Regions from separate parts of the Homo sapiens genome. Here all the other regions are linked to region 5. Evidence: promoter capture Hi-C in 16 types of primary human blood cells and fetal thymus (Javierre and others, 2016). All regions are on one chromosome and are shown on one strand. The core of a region is centred on a gene start or on the middle of the fragment in contact, and the rest is flanking DNA. Distances in the headings are between cores, read along the strand shown. Region 1 overlaps WWP1-AS1 (WWP1 antisense RNA 1). Region 2 overlaps PSKH2 (protein serine kinase H2). Region 3 overlaps WWP1 (WW domain containing E3 ubiquitin protein ligase 1). Region 4 has its middle 53 kb from the start of PSKH2. Region 5 holds the start of CA2 (carbonic anhydrase 2). Region 6 overlaps ATP6V0D2 (ATPase H+ transporting V0 subunit d2). Region 7 overlaps PSKH2 (protein serine kinase H2).

Region 1 (2,773 bases), core at 186-2,685, 870 kb before region 5:
CTTCTGAGACAACATCATAAAAGATATTGCAGCTCCCACCTTGCTGCCTTGGGGTACTCTTGCTCTAGAGAAAGACAGTGCTTTAGCAAGGATTTTGTCTTGCTGTCTTGCCTCAGACAGGAACTGAGGCCTGTTGATAAATGGACAGCAGCAATTTGCTAGCCATATGTGGCACCTTGGAAATGGATCTTCCAATCCCTCTCAAGTCTTCAGATGACTGCAATCTCACGTAACACTCTATGCCAGAAGTAGCCAGCCAAGAAATACATATATTCCAGAACTGCAAAAACTGTGAGAAATAATAAATCTGTATTATTGTTTTCGGTCACTAGGTTTTGGAGAAATTTTTATACAACAAATATACTTGCATTTTCATTTTCTTAACAATGTGTTTTGAAAAGTCAATGTTTTTATTTTGATGAAGTTCACATCATTTTGTGACATATTTAAGAAATTTTACTTTAAGACAGTGAAGATTTGTTAATACTTTTTTTCTTAAAGTTTATAGCTTTAGCTTTTACATTTGGGTCTATAATCTATTTCAAAATAATTTTTGCATATGCTGAGATGAAAGAGTCAATGTTCATTTTTTTTTTCTAAATAGATATATGGTTGTTTCAATACCATTTGTTGAAAAGACAATCCTTTCCCCATTGAATTACTTTGGAACTTTTGTGAAAACTCTGTCTATTTCTGGGCTCTCTATTCCTTCCATTGAACCATATGTCTATCCTTACACAAATATCACACTGTCTTGATTACTATAACTTTAGAAAGTCTTAAAATTGGGAAGTGTAAATTTTCCAAATTTGTTCTTTTTCAAAATGATTTTGACTCTTCCAGGTTCTTTGCATATGTTATGCTTTTTGATGCTGCAAGAGATCTTCAACAAGTTCATAGAAATATGCATATTTTGAAAAAACTATGCATGGATTTTAAAATTTTTCGCCCCCAGATGAACTCATACTAACTTGCTATAACATGTATGAGCAGGATGTATTTTGAGTCACTAAGAAGGATAAGACATCAGTTTGAAAAAAAGCCCCTATCAGAGTAGCATGAATTCTGCTAGAGTTGAAGCAAGAACAAACATCAAATTTATGGGGAAGCTTGGGTAGAACAATGGTAAAATCACTGATGCTTTATGAAAAATTTATTGGGACAATGCACCAAAGCAATCAGCAGTTTACAAATGGGTAATTCATTTTAAGAAGGGAGGAGATTATGTAAAAGATGAAGCCTGCAATGACAGACCTTCACATCAGTTTGCAAGGAAAAAACTCACCTTGTTCATAACCTCATTCAAGAGGCCTAACAATTAGTAGGAGAAACAATAGCCAACACCATAGAAAACTCAAATCTCATAGCTTACACAATCTGACTGAAAAACTAAAGTGGAGCAAACTTTTCACTCAACAGGTGCCAAAACCATTGTACCCAGATCAACTGCAAACAAGAACAGAGTTTTAATGGAAATTTTAAACAAGTAAGATGAAAATCCTGAAGCATTTCTTTCAAGAATTGTAACAGGAGATGAAACATGGCTTTACCAGTATAATCCCGAAGACAAAGTACAATCAGAGCAATGGCTACCAAGAGGTGGAAGTGGTCCAGTCAAAGCAAAAGCAGACCTGCCAAGAGCAAAGGTCGTGGGAATAGTTTTTTGGGATACTTATTTTGCTTGTTGACTTTCTGAAGAGCCAAAGAACAATAATATCTGCTTGTTTCAAGAGTGTTTTGAGAAAGTTTGCTAAAGCTTTAGCAGAAAAATTCCTGGAAAAGCTTCACCAGTCTTTTTCTACCGCAACAATGCTCCCACTCATTCTTCTCATCAAACAAGGGCAATTTTACAAGACTTTCAATGAGAAATCATTAGGCATCGACCTTACAGTCCTAATTTGGCTCTTTCTAACTTCTTTTTGTTTCCTAATCTTAAAAAATCTGCAAAGGGCTCCCATTTTTCGTCATTTAATCATGTAAAAAAGACATGGTTAAATTTCCATGAATCTCAATTTTTTTAGGGATGGATTAAATGACTGGTGTCATCACTTACAACCATGGTTGACCTCGATGGAGCTTATGTTGAGAAATAAAGTTTATATTCTTTATCTTTTAATTCAATTTTTCCATGAACATTTTGAAGTGCCTCATATTATAAATGATATTTCATTGTTAGTGGTTCATTAATAGGGTATTTAAATACAATTCTTTTTTAATATTAGTCCTGTACACTGAGATCATGTTTAAAAACCTATTAGTTCTAGTAGTATTTTATAGATTTCTTTTGATTTTCTATGTATACAATCATGTTTCTCCAAATAAAGAGTTTTATTTTTTTCCTTCCATTCTGTATGCTTTTATTTCCTTTTCTTGCCCTATTGCATGGACTAGAACATCCAGTACAATGTTGAGCAGAAGTGATGAGAAATACATCCTTACCTTGTTCCTGATTTTCAGACAAAGCATTCAGTGTTTTACCATCAAGTATACTATCTTTAGGCTTTTTGTATACGTAATTTATGAGGTTGAGGAAGTTCTCTTCTTTTCTTAGTTTGCTGAGAGCTTTTTTATATTTTTGAGATAGGGTCTCAGTCACCTAGCCTGGAGTGCTGTCACGATCATGGCTCACTGAGCCTCAGCCTCCTGGGCTCATGTGATCCTTCCACCTCAGCCTTCTGAGTACCTGGGACTACAGATGCATACCACCACATTCGGCTCATTTTTTTGTAGAGACAGGGTTTCACTATGTTGCCCTGGCTGGTCTCGAACTCCT
Region 2 (2,700 bases), core at 114-2,613, 590 kb before region 5:
CTCTCCAGTTGTCCTTTATGGCTCAGGAATTCTGCAATTTATAACTCATGTTTGAATAATAAGCTTTGGCTGAAGAACTTTTTCTCCGGTTACTTTATTTTCTTCAACTGCATTTTAAACGTACAATCATTTGGGGTCATCTTAATAAGCTCTCCATAAACCTTGTTGCACATATTTTATACTCTTTCAGAAAGATTCAGTTGCTTGTCTTAAAATGTTCCAGAGGAGCCATCTAATTTAACCTTCATTTAAATAGTCTTGAGCTCAGATAGATTTGTCTGGATTCAGGGCCAAATAGATGTCTAGCCAGAACCAGAGGGCATGGCATTGTGAGTGTCAGTCACTGATGTGCTTTTTCTAGACTTGCAGAGTTTATATTTTGTTTTTCCTGTGTTTGAGTATTTGTCAGATATGCTTATTTATTTTATAACTTTTATTTCTGGGATAAATATTTCTCATGTCTCATTTACCTAAATACACTGAAGGAAAAAAAAGAAGAGTTCTTTTACTGGTTTCTTATTATTCAAATTCTGGATTAAGGCGGGGGGCAGTGTTTACGCCTGTAATCCCAACAATTTGGGCGGCCGAGGCAGGCGGATCACCTGAGGTTAGGAGTTTGAGACCAGCCTGGCTAACGTGGCGAAACCCGGTTTCTACAAAAATGCAAAAATTAGCTGGGCTTGGTGGCACATGCCTGTAATCCCAGCATGTGAGAGTGAGGCACTCTCCCAGCATGGGAGAGTGAGGCACGAGAATCGCCTGAACCCGGGAGGCGGAGGTTGCAGTGAGCCACGATCATGCCACTGCACTCCAGCCTGGGCAACACAATGAGACACCATTTCAAAAACAAACAAACAAACAAATTCTGAGTTAAGTTGGCATGGGTGGGGGTGGGAGTGGGTCTGCAGTCACAGTTACTTGGGAAACTGAGGCAGGAGGATGGCTTGAGACCAGGAGGAGTTCAAGTCCAGCCTCGGCAATATAACAAGACCCCATCTCTAAAAAAAGCAAAACAAAACAACAAAAAACAAAACATAGAGTTAATAGGGTGCTAAGAGATTGGAGAATGTGATGTCTATGTATGGACTCTGCTTTATCGTTACACAATGGCAGAGACAATACATGGAAGGATTCCCTTATCTTTCCTTGGAAATACCATCTTTTAAAAACACACATCAATTAGAAATTGTGTTTGAGATACAGCAAACGTATGGGCAATTTTCTCAATGTTTCTCTTTTGCAGAGGACAAAGGACACTAAACTGTAGTGTTTTCCGGGTATACGGTATGTGCTGGTAGAGTCAACCTACAGGATGAGGCTGAGGCACAAAATATAGTTTTTAAGAGCTTGTCTGATCAGGCCAAAGTGGGGACAGCTGCTCTGGAAAACGTCCTAACTTCTGTGGGGCGTGTGCTCTTAGGTCTGGGCTGATACAAAGTTGTTTGAGAGGAATTAACACTGGTTTACATAAATAACATTGATTAGTGATTGGCTATATTGTTGAACTGTGGGGTATGAGTGATGGTGTCCAACCTATGGCACTTTATGGCTACTTGGTGTTAGATAGCGTAGAGCCCACATAGCAAGTGGCTTCAAGAGGTAATTATTTAGCACAAGAGGAGAATGAGAAGTGAAGGCTGTTATATTTCAGTGCCTCTCTTGGCCTGATAATTTAAAGGGGCTTGCATTCCTCAGATTAAATTGTTTCTTTTCTTTCTCAGCAGATAATGCAGAAAGCAAATTTGAATATAAAGCAACAGCCTTCTTATTCCCATGCTCAGAAATGCCACTATGAAGTGCTGCTATTGTATTTAAAGTATGTGCAATTGCTGTAAACACTGCCACTATAAATCCCTGAAATAGGAACTACTTAGCTGTGCATATTGTACTGTGTCATAGCTGTTACGTGTTGAATCTATTTGTAGTCAAATCTATTTGAATCTATTTGTTACATGTTGAATCTATTTGTTCTCAGCTGATTGGGAACAGTGAGGGCCCAGTGTGTTTGAGGAAGTGCACTTCACTTCCTTCCTTCCTTCCTTCCCTCCCTCCCTCCTTTCCTTCTTTCTTTCTTCCTCTTTCTCTCTCTCTCTGCCTTTCTTCCTTTCTTTCTTCCTCTTTCTCTCTTCCTTTCTTCCTTTCTTTTTCTTTCTTTTCTCTTTCTTTCTTTCTTTCGTTTCTTTCTTTCTTTCTTTCTTTCTTTCTTTCTTTCTTTCTTTCTTTCTTTCTTTCTTTCTTTCTTTCTTTCTTCTTTCTCACTCTTTCTCTCTCTCTCTCTCTGCCTTCCCCTCCCCTCTTCTCTCTCTCTGCCTCTCCCCTCCCCTCTTCGCTCTCTCTCTCTCTCTCTCTCCTCTTTCTTTCTTTTTAGAGACAGGGTCTCACTCTGTCACCCAGGCTGGAGTGTGGTGCTGCCATCATAGCTCACTGCAGCCTTGAATGCCTGGGCTGAAGGAATCCTCCCACCTCAGCTTCCTGAGTAGTTGGGATTACAGACATGTGCCACTGTGCCTGGCTAATTTTTACATTTTTTGTAGAGATGGGGTTTTGCTGTGTTGTCCAGGCTGGTCTCAAACTCCTGGACTCAAACGATCCTTCTTCCTCAACCTCCCAAAGTGCTGGGATTACAAACGTGAGCTACTGTGCCTGGCTCAGAGTAAGCTTTCAAAGGGAGGGAAAAGTTGATGATTTCTCAATCCATTC
Region 3 (2,921 bases), core at 27-2,526, 920 kb before region 5:
TAGAAGAACTACTGGATTTTGCTGTTTTCGTAATTTCTCCATCTACAACTACTTCTGTATATATTGCTGTTCCGAACCAGTTCTTTTTTCTTTTAAGTTTGGCACTAGAAACTAACAGACAAATAATTCACTAGTGAGTATGTGTTGCCAAAAAGTAGTACTGCACACTAATCAATCAATAAGAATGGAATTGTGCTTCTTGTGCAACTAGAACTCTTCTCGTTGGCAGAATGAAGAAACAATACAAAAGGGCTACTGATAATGCTTGAGAGCCATTTGAATGTTTCTGTAACAGTTTTAGTGAGCTATCATTCACATATCATATAATTCACCCACTTAAACTGTACAATTCAATGGTTTCACTATATTCAGAGTGGCACAACCATCACCACAATCAATTTTAAAACAGTTTTGTTACCATAAAAATAAACTCCATACCATTAAGCAGTCACCCCCTTCTTTCTCCTCCCAATCAACCCTCTCCCCACCCCCATCCCTAGGCAGCCACTAACCTACTCTCTGTCTCTTTAAATTTGCCTATTCTGGACATTTCATATAGATGGAATCATATAATGTGGGTTTTTTTTGTGACTGGCTTCTTTCACTCAGCATTACATTTTTGAGGTTCATCCATATTGTAACATGCACCAGTACTCCACTCCTTTTCTTGCCAAATACCATTCTATTATATGGGTATATGACATTTTATCTATTAACTGATAAATATATGAACTGCTTCCACTTTGTGGCTATTGTGCATAAAGCTGTTATGAACATTTGTGCACAGGCTTTTTTGTGGACGTATGTTTTCATTTCTCTTGGGCATATACTTTGGAGTAGAACTCCTGGCTCATGTGATAACCCTCTGTTGAGTAACTGCCAGGCTATTTTCCAAAGTGGCTGCACCATTTTATATTCCTATCAACAATATACACTGATTTCTCCACATTCTCACCAACAACTGCATTAAAGATCAAGGGAAAAGTGTCTTCAGATTCAACATGCCCATTAACATCCCTGCCAGGTACTATTAACTTGTCTTTCTGAAATTACATAACTGTGGCACTTAAAAAAATGCTTTAATGTTTTATCTGGAAAGTTAGCTTCGAAAAGAAGTAGTATTTGCATTTTCAAATAAAAGCTTAAAAATCAAAATGTCATTATAAAAGTTAATCATAACCCCTTCCAGAAAGTGAAAATCTAATATACCTGAGATATGAAGAAATCAGGGACTATCTACTTTCTGGGCAAAATACTGATGAACAGGCAGTAAGAACAACTTATCAAGATCACCTCTATAATCAATTACCTGTGAACACCCTAGATCAGAGATGAGGAAGGGAAAAGCCTCTTTCATGTCATACACACCGGATGTTAAGGATATAAAAACAACCAAAGCTATGTAAGCTTCCATTCTATTGTGAGAGAATAATAATCTAAATAGTCACACAAATAAATCACTGAAATACAATGTGATAAATGCAAGATTCCAAGCAAATACTATATTTAAGTACCGGCAACATAGCAATTAAAGAGTGTTCAATGTTATGTCTGAACTGCTACTACCAGGGTCTTAGCAAAACTCATTTCCATCCTTCATCGTTCCAAACTGCTCTAAGTTCAGCGCCACTGGACTAATATAGAAGGCCCAGACTTGCTCTCTCCCAAGAAACTTCCCAAGATTCTTTGAATAAAAGTGCTCATATATTTCCTCAGTATATGTAAGTCTTATCCATATAGCAGAAGACTGGAAGAAGGAAAAGTCAGTATATGATGGTGTTAAAAGCAGAGGGATAGACATATCTGGGTTCATTTTTCAAATGTGCCACTTACTAAAAGCCTGACCACAGTAAGTCAATTAATTTCTCCATCCCTTACTTGAAAAATCAGAAGAACAGCAGTACCTGATTCTTAGGATTGGTGAGTGAAGGCATGCAAGGCACTATCACCATCAATGAATGTCTGGCATCCAACAATGGTAGCTGTTACTCTATTATTACTGACTATATAGTATTAACTCTTCTCTGAGTTCATTACAGATCCATCCAAAATACGTCCACTGAATACCCTTACTTGGCAAAATACTCAACAATACTAGAGGGTAAGGTAAGAAAAGAGATTTTTCAAAGATAATAATCTTTAATCTCATGAGGAATTTATAAATATGCTAGCAAAATGTACATATAAATAATGTGATTTTAAATAACTAGAAGACAACCTTATTAATTCAAAAAGTTGTTCTAGTTAGTAGAATATATAGATTTTTTTTCTCATTTAATGAGTTTCCTTTGGTGTTATACACAGAATGTCCTCCACTCTAAGGTTATATAAGTATTTTTAAACTATCAGAAAATGAGTCACCTGTGAGAGGGTAGGGAGAGTTAACTCAAAAATCCCACTCACAATAACATCCCTTCAAAAAATCTAGTAATAAACTTAAGAAATAAGTAAGAGTCACATGAAGAGAACTATAAAACTTTACCAATGGAAACAAAGGCTTAAAAAAAATGATATGATATATTCCTAGATTTGAAAAGTTTAACATTGAAATATTTCAATTAGCTCCAATTTAATACATTATTTTAAAATAAAAACACCAACTGATTGGTTTTGAGTGTTTTTGGTGGGGGCAGAGGAAAAGGAAGGGAGACTTAAATATTCAAATAAAAGCCAAAGAAAAATCAAGAACAGTAAACGTGTATTTTAAAATGCAAAGTAATAAAAGGAAATTTCTCAAAATATTTTTTTAAAAAGTACCATAAAGTGAAAATAATTAAAATGGTTTGACAGTGATGTAAAAGAGAAGTAAAGAGAAAAGCAAGATACTAATGCATAACAGTGGCATTTCAAATCAATGGGAAGATAGATGAGACCATAAATTTTGAAACATTTGAAAAGAATGAAGTCTATAATTCACACCA
Region 4 (2,743 bases), core at 231-2,730, 550 kb before region 5:
AGACTGCCATTTTTGGCAGAGGGCCGCTGGGGGAATAACAACTTACAAAGGAAATACTTGTGAAAGGGAAGTACATACAAGTCCAGGGTCCAGGAAATATTTCTTTTTCCTCATGTACTTCTTTTCGAATGAGAACAAACTATGGTAACATATTCTAACTGCAGTGTTGTCGGCAAGATGTCCTCCTCTTCTTTGCTGAGCTAGTAAATCATTTTAGACTCCTCTGAAGACTTGGCCCAGAGCCCTATAACACTTATTGAAGCCAATTCCTCTTCTCATCAAGTAAGGACAGTAGTAATTTTCTTCCCTGGGGACATAAGTTTATGCTTGTGAAATTCAGAACTATAAATGGTCCAAATTTGGGAAAATGAAAAAATGATAATGTACTATAATATATAAAATATTATGATACTATAATTGAGGGTTACTTTTTTACCTTTCATTTTTTTTGAACATAAACTCAAGATTTTATTGTCTTCATAATAAAAGAAAAGATGACACTTAGAATTGGATCACTTGGCCCTTTCTCTTCTTATCTACTCCCAGTTCAAAACGCATCTGTTAATAGCCTTAGACGTGCAGTTGGGCTCAAAGCACTCAAACTTTAGCACAATCTTCTTTGTAGTTTTGGCCTTTTTCGGGATAATCAGCTTAGTCTGCCCACCATAGCCACTCTGCTTTCTGTCATAACGCTGCTTTCCCTGGGCATTCAGAGAATCCTTGCTCTTCTTGTATTTTGTCACTTTGTGGGGTTGGTGTTTGCCACACTTCTTACAGAAAGTCCGACGGGTTTTAGGAATGTTCACCATGTTTGTGTGAGTGCTATCACCACGGAAAGAAAGAGGCCGGGCCAGAAACAGAAGTATATAGCACCTTTTTACTTTTCTTTTGACAAGGGCACAACTGTGGAGAGTGGATTGTGTCTTAAAGCCAGATGGCCTTGTAATTGATGCCTTTTGTACTTACTAGCCAAGTGTACTTACGTTAATTTCTTAACGTCATTTGTCTCCTATATAACACCATTTACAGCAGTAGGATTAAATGTGAGTAGAGGACAAGGATACTGCTAAACACTAGCAGATGCCAGGAGCATACTCTGCCCCTCACGTTTTGACAATCAGAAATGTTTTCAGACACTGCTTGGGTGCCGAAATCATCCCTGGCTGAGAACCATGGTCATAGAGAAAGACACCTTGGACTTGGAGAATGGAAAGTGGGCTCCGCTAGTTATAACACCTACTTAAATTTTGCTTTTCTCATTTTTAAAATGTAGGGGTTAAGCAAGATGATCTTTAAGATGATTTCTACTTCTAACAAGCTGTGATTATGTGGAAGAAGAAAATAAATGTACCAGGGATTGAGGAAGGCATGGGGTTGAAGACCAGGGAAATTGGCTAAGATAGGGAGTGGTCAGGTAAGTTATGTATTTCTGAGCAGACAAAGTTGATAATCCATACCCCTAAATAGACAGGATTGCCCACCGAAGCTAACCAGCTGGGGAACAAAGGGCTGGAAATCCAGACAAGGAATTGGCACTTCTACAGATGACAGTGATGGTGGTCATGATGATGATGATGGCGATGGTGACAGTTATGGTAAGGACAAAGCAACTAGTATTTATTTAGCACTAACTGTGGACCAGGTTCTCAGTCTAGGCGGTGGGAAACGAAAGGTCAGCATGTAGGCTGGGGTGAGGTGTAATGGTAGAAGTTACAGAGGAAAGCTAGAAAAGTCAGGCTGCCCTTAGATCCAAGCCAAGGGAAAGCAAGAAACTTGGGACTTGGGCCTATGTTTCATGGAAGGAAATGAGACAAGACCAGTAGAGAATGTATCTTTGCAGATGAAAATATTAATGCTTCATTATTAAAATCCAAGTGGAGTCATTTTTAATAGAAATAGAAGAAAGGGAACAGTGAGAGGAGGGTAATCCTAAAGGCGCTAAGAAGCAGCGGAAGTGGTCAAACAACAAATCAATCTCATTAGCGGAAATATTTCCAGGTTGTAACTTTCATTCTTTCTCTCTTAGGTACATTTTATTGTTAATTACATTATATTTTATTTATTTTTATATTGAAACTGAATGAGTCAGGGCAGTTTATTTTGTTTTGGATTTTAGGATTTACCTATAGTTATTTGCCAGAGATTTAATACCCTAGTGGATATGTGCACACATTTTACGTGGTCCTTTTTAAAGCCAGTCCAATTTCTTTTCAGTGTTTGGTACTGAATGAATGAATCCAATTCTTAACTTCTTGCTTCATCAGACCCGGTTTGCTTGGCTTTTATTATTTATTTATTTATTTATTTATTTATTTATTTATTTATTGAGACGGAGTCTTGCTCTGTTGCCAAGGCTGGAGTGCAGTGGCACGATCTGGGCTCACTGCAACCTCTGTCTCCTGGGTTCAAGCATTTCTCCCTGCTTCAGCCTCCTGAGTAGCTGGGATTACAGGCACACACCACCATGCCTGGCTAATTTTTGTATTTGTTTTATTAGAGGTGGGGTTTCACAATATTGGTCAGGCTGGTCTCAAACTCCTAACCTCAGGTGACCCACCCACTTCCTTGACTTTTAGGAAGATCAGTCTGTTAGGCTGGAGTTGCGATGAGTTACCAAGAAGGAACTTTGGGACTCCAAATCCTTAGTGCATTACAACATGTGCTTTGGATAGTGACCTGTCTGCACATCCCAAGAAATCTTTCAACAATGTCCACCTGAGGTGAAAACGTTTTCCCCCATGAG
Region 5 (2,700 bases), core at 1-2,500:
CATGTGAATCCCCCATTGTGGGGAAAGGTACACCCAGACCCCTAGAGAAGAGCAATCATTCCGGAGCCAATCTGCTCAGTTCCAATTTTAGAAGCATCACTTAACAATGGGCTAAATTTTGGGAAAACACGTAATCTGTGCCTCAGTTTCCACATTTGTAATATGGGATAATTAGAAATCTACCTCATAGATGTCGCTGTAAGAATTAGAATCGATATATGTAAAGCTCTTAGATCACTGAGTGCTATATAAATATTAGCTATTTTAAGGTCGTTTTACTGAAATTCAGCAACTGAAATCGGGCAGACACTAATGTCAGGGCTTGTGGTTGCGATTTTGGGATATGCAAGCTCACTTAAGACATTCAAGGAGGTCTGGATCCTTTCCTCACTGCCCAGGCCCGGGCCCACCCCACCTTTAACCGTCAGGGTTCCCCACTACCTGGGAAGCCCCACACCCTCCAAAGATGCGCTAGGTGCGCCAGACGCATGCTCCTCTGCTCCGCTGGCTCCGAAGAACCAGATCTGAGGCCAAGATAAAACCCGATTCCTGATGTCCGACCCCCTAACATTAGAAGTCGAGAGATGAAGGGAAAACTCGGAAATCAGAGCCATGGATTCAAACCAGCACTGGAAAATGCCCCGGGACAGTTCGTGCTGAGCGCCTTAGCCACAGGTGGTGCTGAAGCTGGAGGGGTGGGGTGGGGGTGGAAGGTGGGGGAGGGGGGAGGGGAGTCTCTTAATTTCTCTGCGATCAACAACTAGAATTTTCCGTTACAACCCTTTCCCGCCTCCTCCTAGGTCCGGTTAAAATGATCCCCAGGTCGGGACCCGGGAGGGACTGTCCTCGGGTCCCGCGGCCAGGGCTGCGCCTCCCCTCCCTCGGGCCCTACGCGCCTCCGGCGGACGCGGGGATTCCTCCACAGTGGCCTCGCAGCTGGGGCAAGGGGGACATCCCCGGCGCCGCGGAGCCGCGAGCGGAGCGAGCGCCCGGGGCGCACCTGAGCCTCCAGCACTCCCCGCGGCCGCGGTAAACAGCATGTGCGGGCGCTGCGGGCCCCGGGCCGGCATCCGGGCTCGGGGATCGGGGATCGGGGATCGGGGATCGGGGCGCCCCCGCGCTGGCCGTCGCCGGCACTCACCGTTGTGTTTGCCGTACCCCCAGTGATGGGACATGGTCGCGCTGGCGGTCGGGGCAGGGCAGGAATCGGCACCGATCTGGCGGCGGCGGCTTGGGCGCCTGCACTGTGTGTCCGCGGGTCGCGCCGGCACCAGCTTTTATAGGCTCCCGCCAACTTCGTGCTCGGGGGCGGCCCGGGGGAGGGGGCTCGGGTGGACCTAGGCGACAAGGGGAGGTGGTGACGGGCGGAGGTGAACTCCCCGCGCTCGGGGCGGGGCGGGCCGGGCGGGCGAGTCTCCGGGGGCGGGGAAAACGCCCTCTCGGCTGGCGCCCGGCGGGGCTCCGGGGCTCCGGGGCTCCGGGGCTCCTCTCCCGCCGCCCGGCTCCCCTCGGCCCACGGCAGGGCCCCGGTGTCCTGGGCTGGCAGCGAAGCTCGGAGCTCTGGGCGTGCGGCGGCTGCGGTGGCTCCTGGGCTCCTCCGTCCAACCCGGGCCGCGGAGCCTCTACGCGCACCCCATCCCCCTCCCGGCTGCGGAGTCTGGCGGCGGCGGGGACTGCTCGGGACCCGGACCCCCGGCGCCTTTCGTCCCCTGTCCCCATTGTGACCTGTCTCTTGGCCCCGGAGCCCTCCCGCCCCACCCGCGCCGGGGTCTCCAGCGCGAAGGGCTCAGTCTCTGGTGTCCCCGGCCTGGGGCTGGCAAGCTGGGTTAGGAGCTATGACCTTGGGGCAAATAGGGATACGATCCTAGAGGCGCAGGGGAGCGCGCAGCATGAGTGCTGAGAGGCACGCGCCCTCTGCTGCACGGCCGTGGAATAAAACGAGACAACGGCCCCACAGTCCCCTGCCCGCAGCCCACGCTCGGGCGAGCCTGGAGGATTGCATTTCCTCGTAGGCTGGCAGAGCCTTACATGAAGCGCTCATCTTCTCCTACTTTCCTCCTCTTTAAAAAATTAACGTGGGTGAGGAGACGTCCTAGTTGAGTACATATTGATTTGAAATAACCAAAACTTTTAACAAATCACTTTTCTCAGAAGAATCCAGTAAGAGAAAGATAATTTCTTCCAAAGACATGAGACGTTCCCTGGCTGGCCAAGAAAAATTGGCATCTGGCATACCTAGGAATCATTCAAAATAGTTTAATAGGAAGGACATTTTGAGGCCAGCCAGCATTATGACATTTGTGGGTCCTACGGCATTTCACCTTGGTGGGTCCCTTTTTCATAAACACGCATTTATACCAACACTGACATAAAGATAAATATCTTAATATTATATATTTAAACATTTTCTTTAACCAACACCTAATTTTTTTCTTTTTTGTTCTTATTTTAAAAGGAAACATTTTCCTGGGCATCTAAAAGTATTGTGGACCTGAGACACTGTGCTTACAGGGCCTACTGGGTAAGTGAGGCTGTTTTGAGATATAGAGAGAATTCATTTCCTACAAGGGATTTTGCCACAGAAAAATCCGGGGGTTTGTGGGAAGGAGTTCGGTTCTGTGGTCTCTGCAATCTCTGAGGGCAATAGTATTAGAGTTACAGTTGGGGAAGCAGGACACAGTTTAATGTGATTGTGTCGGC
Region 6 (2,700 bases), core at 186-2,685, 640 kb before region 5:
CTATCCAAAACCATAAAATGGAAAGAACTATTTCAGGAATTCCAAAGTCTAGCAGAAGAGGGAAAACAAATTCTTGTTGTATGTAAACTACAGTGCAGGGGTGTATTGTTAAGATTTACAATTTACAAAACATCTTCAGATATTTTGGATCCTCCCAGTGAACTGGGAGTTAGGCCACGGAGATACCATCTAAAGATGAGATAAGAAAGCACTTATCAGTGCTCACGCTTGTAATCCCAGCATTTTGGGAGGCTGAAGCAGGAGGATTGTTTGAGGCCAGGAGTTCAAGACCAGCCTGGGCAACAAAGTGAGACCTTGTCTTTGCAAATGACAAAAAAGTTAGCCAGGCTTGGTGACATGCACCTGTGGTCCCAGGTACTTGAAAGGCTAAGGTGGGAGGATCACTTGAGCCTAGGAGATTGAGGCTGCATTGAGCCATGATCACGCTACCCACTACTGCATTCCCTGGCTTGGGCAACAGAATGAGACCCTGTCTCAAAATAAAAAAATAAAAATAAAAAAAAAAAGCACCATGTTAAAGGTTAAGCACTTGCTTAGAATCCCAGAACCATAAAGCAGAAGATCCAGGACTTGAACCCAATATGTAGATATTTCCAGTGTGTATTTTCAGATTCTTACTACATGCAAAATACACTCTTAGGCTTAGGGAGGTAGGAGAGAGAAAAGTTTAAGGTGTACTTTCTGCCTTTAAGAAGTTTACAGGCAGCCAGGCACAGTGGCTCACGTCTATAATCCCAGCACTTTGGGAGGCCGAGATGGGCAGATCACGAGGTCAGGAGATCGAGACTATCCAAGCTAACACGGTGAAACCCCATCTCTACTAAAAATATAAAAAATTAGCCGGGCGTGGTGGTGGGTGCCTGTAGTCCCAGCTACTCGGGAGACTGAGGCAGGAGAATGGCATGAACCTGGGAGGCGGAGCTTGCAGTGAGCCGAGATCGCGCCACTGCACTCCAGCCTAGGCGACAGAGAATCCATCTCAAAAAAAAAAAAAAAGAAAAGAAAAAAGAAGTTTACAGGCTAGGCACTCGCTGGCTTACACCGGTAATCTCAGTACTTTGGGAGGCTGAGGTGGGCAGATCACTTGAGCTCAGGAGTTCAAGACCAGCCTGCGCAACATGAATAAACCCTGTCTCTACAAAAATACAAAAATTAGTCAGGAACAGTGGCCTGTGCCTGTAGTTCCAGCTACTCAGGAGGCTGAGGTGGGAGGGTCGCTTAAGTCCGGGAGAGGTAGAGGTTGCAGTAACTGAGATCATGCCACTGCACTCCAGCCTGGGTGTCAGAGCCAGACCGTCTTAAAAAATAAAAATAAAAAAGCTTGCAATAAGGCAGATAGAGCTATATATTTATTTATCAGTTAAGCCTGTAACTGCAGCAGCCTCTGGAGCTAGATAGACAAACGAGGCAAATGTTCTGCCTCAGGATGACACATCTATGCAAATGTCACAGATGTTATACAGGATTAGGTTCATTACAAGGTACCGTGGAGCTAAAGTTGAAGCTTGTCAATTCCATCCCATGATAGATTCTGTAGGAAGGGGCTTACAGAGGAAGTGACTTAAATGAAGACTTTAAAGGGAGATGGTCGCTTTCCAGGAACATGGGATAAGGGATGGAATTTGTGATTGAAGGTGCAGCTCTAGAAAAGGCAAAACATTCTGACGAAGGGCTTACAAGGTGGATCAGCCTTTTAAGCTGTCATTTATCATTTATCTTGCCTGATGGAAGCTCTTGATGTGTGTGTGTGTGTGTGTGTGTGTGTGTATGTGTTTTAAACAGGAGAGAATTGGATATGTCTTTTTAATATAAGGCAGAAAAAGTGCTATAATTAGAGGTACAAATAATGTCTAAGGAAGCAAAGAGAAAGCTCTTTGAAATCAGTCATCCTCCCATATGTTATTTTGAAATTAAAAATAAGTAATAGGTGTATATATGGGTAAACAGTGACAGGTCCCTATGCTTGTCACTCACCTACCCACCACCCCCTGCCACTCGTTCCTAGCTTCACGTAACCTCTATTTTTAGTTTCTTTTTAATCCTTTCACAGTTTCTTTGTAGCTAGGTAATCATATAGGAAGTATATTTTTAAAATTTATCCCACTTTTTACTAAAGAGTGCCATGCCACACCTGGTTCTTCCCCTTGCTTTTCTGACTTAATGTATCTTGGTAATCTTTCCATATTTCTCCTTTTAGAGTGCTTCCTCATGCGTTTTTCCTTTTAAATGCAGAATATTCCATTATGTGAATGTTCCATAACTTATTTAACTTATTCCTGGCTGGTTGTGGTGGCTCAGGCCTATAATCCCAGCATGTTAGAAGGCCAAGGTGGGAGGATTGCTTGAGCCCAGGAGTTTGAGAGTAGCCTGGGCAACATAAGACCCTGTCTCTATTAAAAAAATAAATTTTAAAAAATGAAAACTTATTTCCTGCAGAGGGACACTTGATTTGTTTCCATCTTTTGCTATTCCAAACTATGCCACATAAAAGGCCAGCCGCGGTGGGTCATGCCTGTAATCCCAGCACTTTGGGAGGCTGAGGTGGGTGGATCACTTGAGGTTAGGAGTTTGAGACCTGTCATGGCCAACATGGTGAGACCCCATCTCTACTAAAAATACAAAAAATTAGCCAGGCATGGTGGTGCACGCCTGTAGTCCCAGCTACTCGGGAGACAGAGG
Region 7 (2,700 bases), core at 159-2,658, 600 kb before region 5:
AAGGCGTCCATTTTCTTTCCCCTGTTGCAGAAGCCTCGACTCCTATTGCAATAGTCTGGGATAAGCCTTCCTTGCTGTGTTCCATAAGTGCCCAGTACAATTTCTCTTTGACATCTCTGAACAGGGAGTTCAGAGGATGGGAAAAAAGAGAGCAGGAGCAGCAGCAAACAAGGGAAGGAATTCCTATCTTCGGAGGTGGGGGGTGGGGGTGTGAGAGGACTGTCTGCCAACCTCCAGCATCTGCGGTGGAAGACGGCTTTGCCTCTAATATCCTGGGGCTGGGTCCTGCCAGACCTGGTGTGTGAAGGATCTTCCACTAATTCTAAAAATTGGGATTACAGCGAGTGAACTAGAGATGCGCCTTTGAGTCAGCCAGACTTGAGGTCCAGTTCCATATCTTCTATCATGTACCATGTAGAACATTCCTTAGCTTTTTTCCTTCCTTCGTTTCTAGCTCTGTAAAATGGGAGTATCTATCTCATAAGACTGTTGTGAGCATAATTAAAGTAATACATGTAAATTATGCTGCACAGTGCATGGTACCAGTCCTCATGCAGACATTAGTGCAATGCTGATTATTGTTTTCATGAAGTACAAATAAGCCCTTCCTATGTAGAAGATTTCAGGTTGGTTGGCCTCCTGAGTGTACCATGTTGGACATGTTGGACATTTTGACCAAGTAAATCACGGAATCCCCTTCTCCTCTGTGTGTTTGGGGAGACACAATAATGGGTGGCTCAGCTGGCTTCCCAAGGCACTGCTGGTCCTAGAATTGCATGCTCACTTCGTCACAGTGCTCTGTCCAGAATCTATGCAGAGCCATTTCCTGGCCTCCTTGAGAACTTTTAGTACAGTGACTCCTGGAGGATTAGTTCGGTGGCTGCTAAGCTTACAGAAGAACAAGGCTGGCTAATATGACTGAACTGAATCTGAGTAGGTACAGGGTCTTGTCAAGACTGAATTGGTTAAATGGCATCTCTGGTCATTTGTAGTCAGAGAGATGATGCTAGTCTGGTCTAGTTTTCATCCACCCTACTAATTCCCAATCCAGGGGTAGACCCAGCCCCATAGAGTGTAAAGGCATCACAGAAGTAGAGGATCTCAACATTATAAGGGCTTCAGAGATTTTAACTCAAGGCTCATCTTTAACCAATGAGTAGTTGTGTCCCCAAAGGTTAAGTGACTTGTCCAAGTTAGTGGTAGAATTGGGACTAGAACACAGTCGTCTTCCTTCTCCGTTGTGATTCCATCTATAACTTTTGCAGAAAAGAGATGATAGAATTTAGATATGAGTATATTTACTTTCTTGTTGGGAGTTTATTATAATTGTTTCTCTCAAGCAGATTGTAACACTATTATTATTTCCTTGTTTCAAATCTTTAATCTATGTTCAAAAATTCCCAGTTTGTATCATAGCAGCTGAGGTTAAAGTAATATTTCCAATTTACGTAGTCTCTGGGATGATACAAAATTGTCCAACCTACTAAACTGACTCTGAGGCTACTCTTTAAGAGAGTGGAGGGGTAAAAGTGAAGGAAATGAAAAGACCTTATAAAGGCATTCTTCCCAGCTTGATGTGATCTTTACTTAATGTTTGCAAAATATATATGATGATTCAGGAATAATATGTATTCAGTGAATGATTCTTTTGTTCAGTGTTTATTGCTACTCCTCTGTGCTAGGCACTTTACAAGGTATAGCCACGCAAATCATAAAGTTGGTCACCATTCATGGCAGTTGAGGACTCACGAGCAAGGCTGTAGCTATAAGAATTTGTTATGGGACAAATTGAATAACAATCTGAGGCATTTATTTCCACCACTCTAAATCTTGGCTTCAAGTGTACTGTTTCCTCCAATGCCAAATTACTAGCATTTTTTCAAATATTGGAAATATGAAGCCCCCTTAACAGTATTGAATAAAGCTTCTTTTATTTGAGCAAAAGCGTGTAGTTCTCAGAAATGGTAGTTTGTTTGATATGATTAATTCTGTGAACAAATGAGTTTGATGGCAGCTTTGAGGGCATAGCGATAAATTAGCATTTACAAAGTGCTTTCATCCACAATAGAGGTAATATAAAACTTGGTTGGTCTGCAAAGCAATAGAATTTGAAATGCCTGTGATTATCTTCAAAATCACACTGAGAATGCATGTGAATAGAAAAGCAGAGTTGGAAAGGGAAAAGGGGAAAGAATCTATTTAAGATTACTAAATTGCTATCTGTTTTGATAAGGTAATTGGCCAGAAAATTAAATGCTCTGTGGAGAACAAAGCTGTTTTCTGTAATCTGGTACAGCCAAATGTCATTTTTATTCAATACACACAGGAATATAAAGAACAAACAAGAAGGCAAAAAAAAAAGTTACAGGAAAAATAAGCTCAATAAAAGAAGTAAGACTATTTAAAGCATAGTTTAGTATTTGCATTTGAATCTTTGGTATTGAATATGTGATATAAAAACGTGCCTTCTCCCTGGGTACTCCCTGAGTACATTCCATTCTCTGTCATCCTTAGCTAGGAGAGGTTTTATTAAAATGAAGTCCAGGCACAGTGGCTCATACCTGTAATCCCAACACTTTGGGAGGCTGAGGTGGGCAGATCACTTCAGGTCAGGAGTTCAAGACCAGCCTGGCAAACATGGTGAAATCCCGTCTCTACTAAAAAAAATACAAAAATTAGCCAGGCATGGTGGTGTGCACC

What was found. Contacts are between HindIII fragments. The CHiCAGO score rates a contact against its expected background, and 5 or more counts as called.
Region 1: a fragment that was not itself captured here is called in contact with the fragment with the promoter of CA2 in region 5 in 4 of 17 cell types (total B cells, naive B cells, monocytes and 1 more); the score reaches 10.1 in total B cells.
Region 2: a contact is called between a fragment that was not itself captured here and the fragment with the promoter of CA2 in region 5, in 16 of 17 cell types (monocytes, neutrophils, M2 macrophages and 13 more). The highest score is 17.6, in monocytes.
Region 3: a fragment that was not itself captured here is called in contact with the fragment with the promoter of CA2 in region 5 in 2 of 17 cell types (naive B cells and M1 macrophages); the score reaches 5.4 in naive B cells.
Region 4: a contact is called between a fragment that was not itself captured here and the fragment with the promoter of CA2 in region 5, in 17 of 17 cell types (endothelial precursors, megakaryocytes, neutrophils and 14 more). The highest score is 24.8, in endothelial precursors.
Region 6: a fragment that was not itself captured here is called in contact with the fragment with the promoter of CA2 in region 5 in 11 of 17 cell types (M1 macrophages, total CD8 T cells, total CD4 T cells and 8 more); the score reaches 12.2 in M1 macrophages.
Region 7: a contact is called between a fragment that was not itself captured here and the fragment with the promoter of CA2 in region 5, in 14 of 17 cell types (endothelial precursors, fetal thymus, total CD4 T cells and 11 more). The highest score is 10.9, in endothelial precursors.

Annotation. Positions count from the first base shown.
Region 1 is chr8:86,332,846-86,335,618 of GRCh38, reverse strand. It overlaps WWP1-AS1 (WWP1 antisense RNA 1), which reads left to right. Exons shown (of 6, transcript XR_007060994.1): 6 at 1,420-2,345. Among named protein-coding and RNA genes, the nearest start is that of WWP1, 8.3 kb to the left of the region's middle. The HindIII fragment of the contact is 647 bases long and covers 1,112-1,758 here.
Region 2 is chr8:86,049,226-86,051,925 of GRCh38, reverse strand. The region is part of intron 2 of PSKH2 (protein serine kinase H2); the gene reads left to right. Among named protein-coding and RNA genes, the nearest start is that of PSKH2, 19 kb to the left of the region's middle. The HindIII fragment of the contact is 2,595 bases long and covers 66-2,660 here.
Region 3 is chr8:86,377,916-86,380,836 of GRCh38, reverse strand. It overlaps WWP1 (WW domain containing E3 ubiquitin protein ligase 1), which reads right to left. Exons shown (of 25, transcript NM_007013.4): 4 at 1-111. Among named protein-coding and RNA genes, the nearest start is that of WWP1-AS1, 35 kb to the right of the region's middle. The HindIII fragment of the contact is 266 bases long and covers 1,144-1,409 here.
Region 4 is chr8:86,014,885-86,017,627 of GRCh38, reverse strand. It overlaps the pseudogene RPL36AP31. Among named protein-coding and RNA genes, the nearest start is that of PSKH2, 53 kb to the left of the region's middle. The HindIII fragment of the contact is 4,221 bases long and covers 1-2,743 here.
Region 5 is chr8:85,462,557-85,465,256 of GRCh38, reverse strand. It overlaps CA2 (carbonic anhydrase 2), which reads right to left and starts at 1,250. Exons shown (of 7, transcript NM_000067.3): 1 at 1,142-1,250. The coding sequence starts at 1,175. It overlaps CA3-AS1 (CA3 antisense RNA 1), which reads left to right and starts at 342. Exons shown (of 3, transcript NR_121630.1): 1 at 342-675; 2 at 2,456-2,521. RefSeq lists an enhancer at 642-1,141 and silencers at 785-1,254, 1,365-1,684, 1,755-2,014. The HindIII fragment of the contact is 7,146 bases long and covers 1-2,700 here.
Region 6 is chr8:86,103,939-86,106,638 of GRCh38, reverse strand. All of the region lies in intron 1 of ATP6V0D2 (ATPase H+ transporting V0 subunit d2), which reads right to left. Among named protein-coding and RNA genes, the nearest start is that of ATP6V0D2, 6.4 kb to the right of the region's middle. The HindIII fragment of the contact is 184 bases long and covers 1,344-1,527 here.
Region 7 is chr8:86,066,342-86,069,041 of GRCh38, reverse strand. The region is part of intron 1 of PSKH2 (protein serine kinase H2); the gene reads left to right. Among named protein-coding and RNA genes, the nearest start is that of PSKH2, 2.0 kb to the left of the region's middle. The HindIII fragment of the contact is 1,036 bases long and covers 891-1,926 here.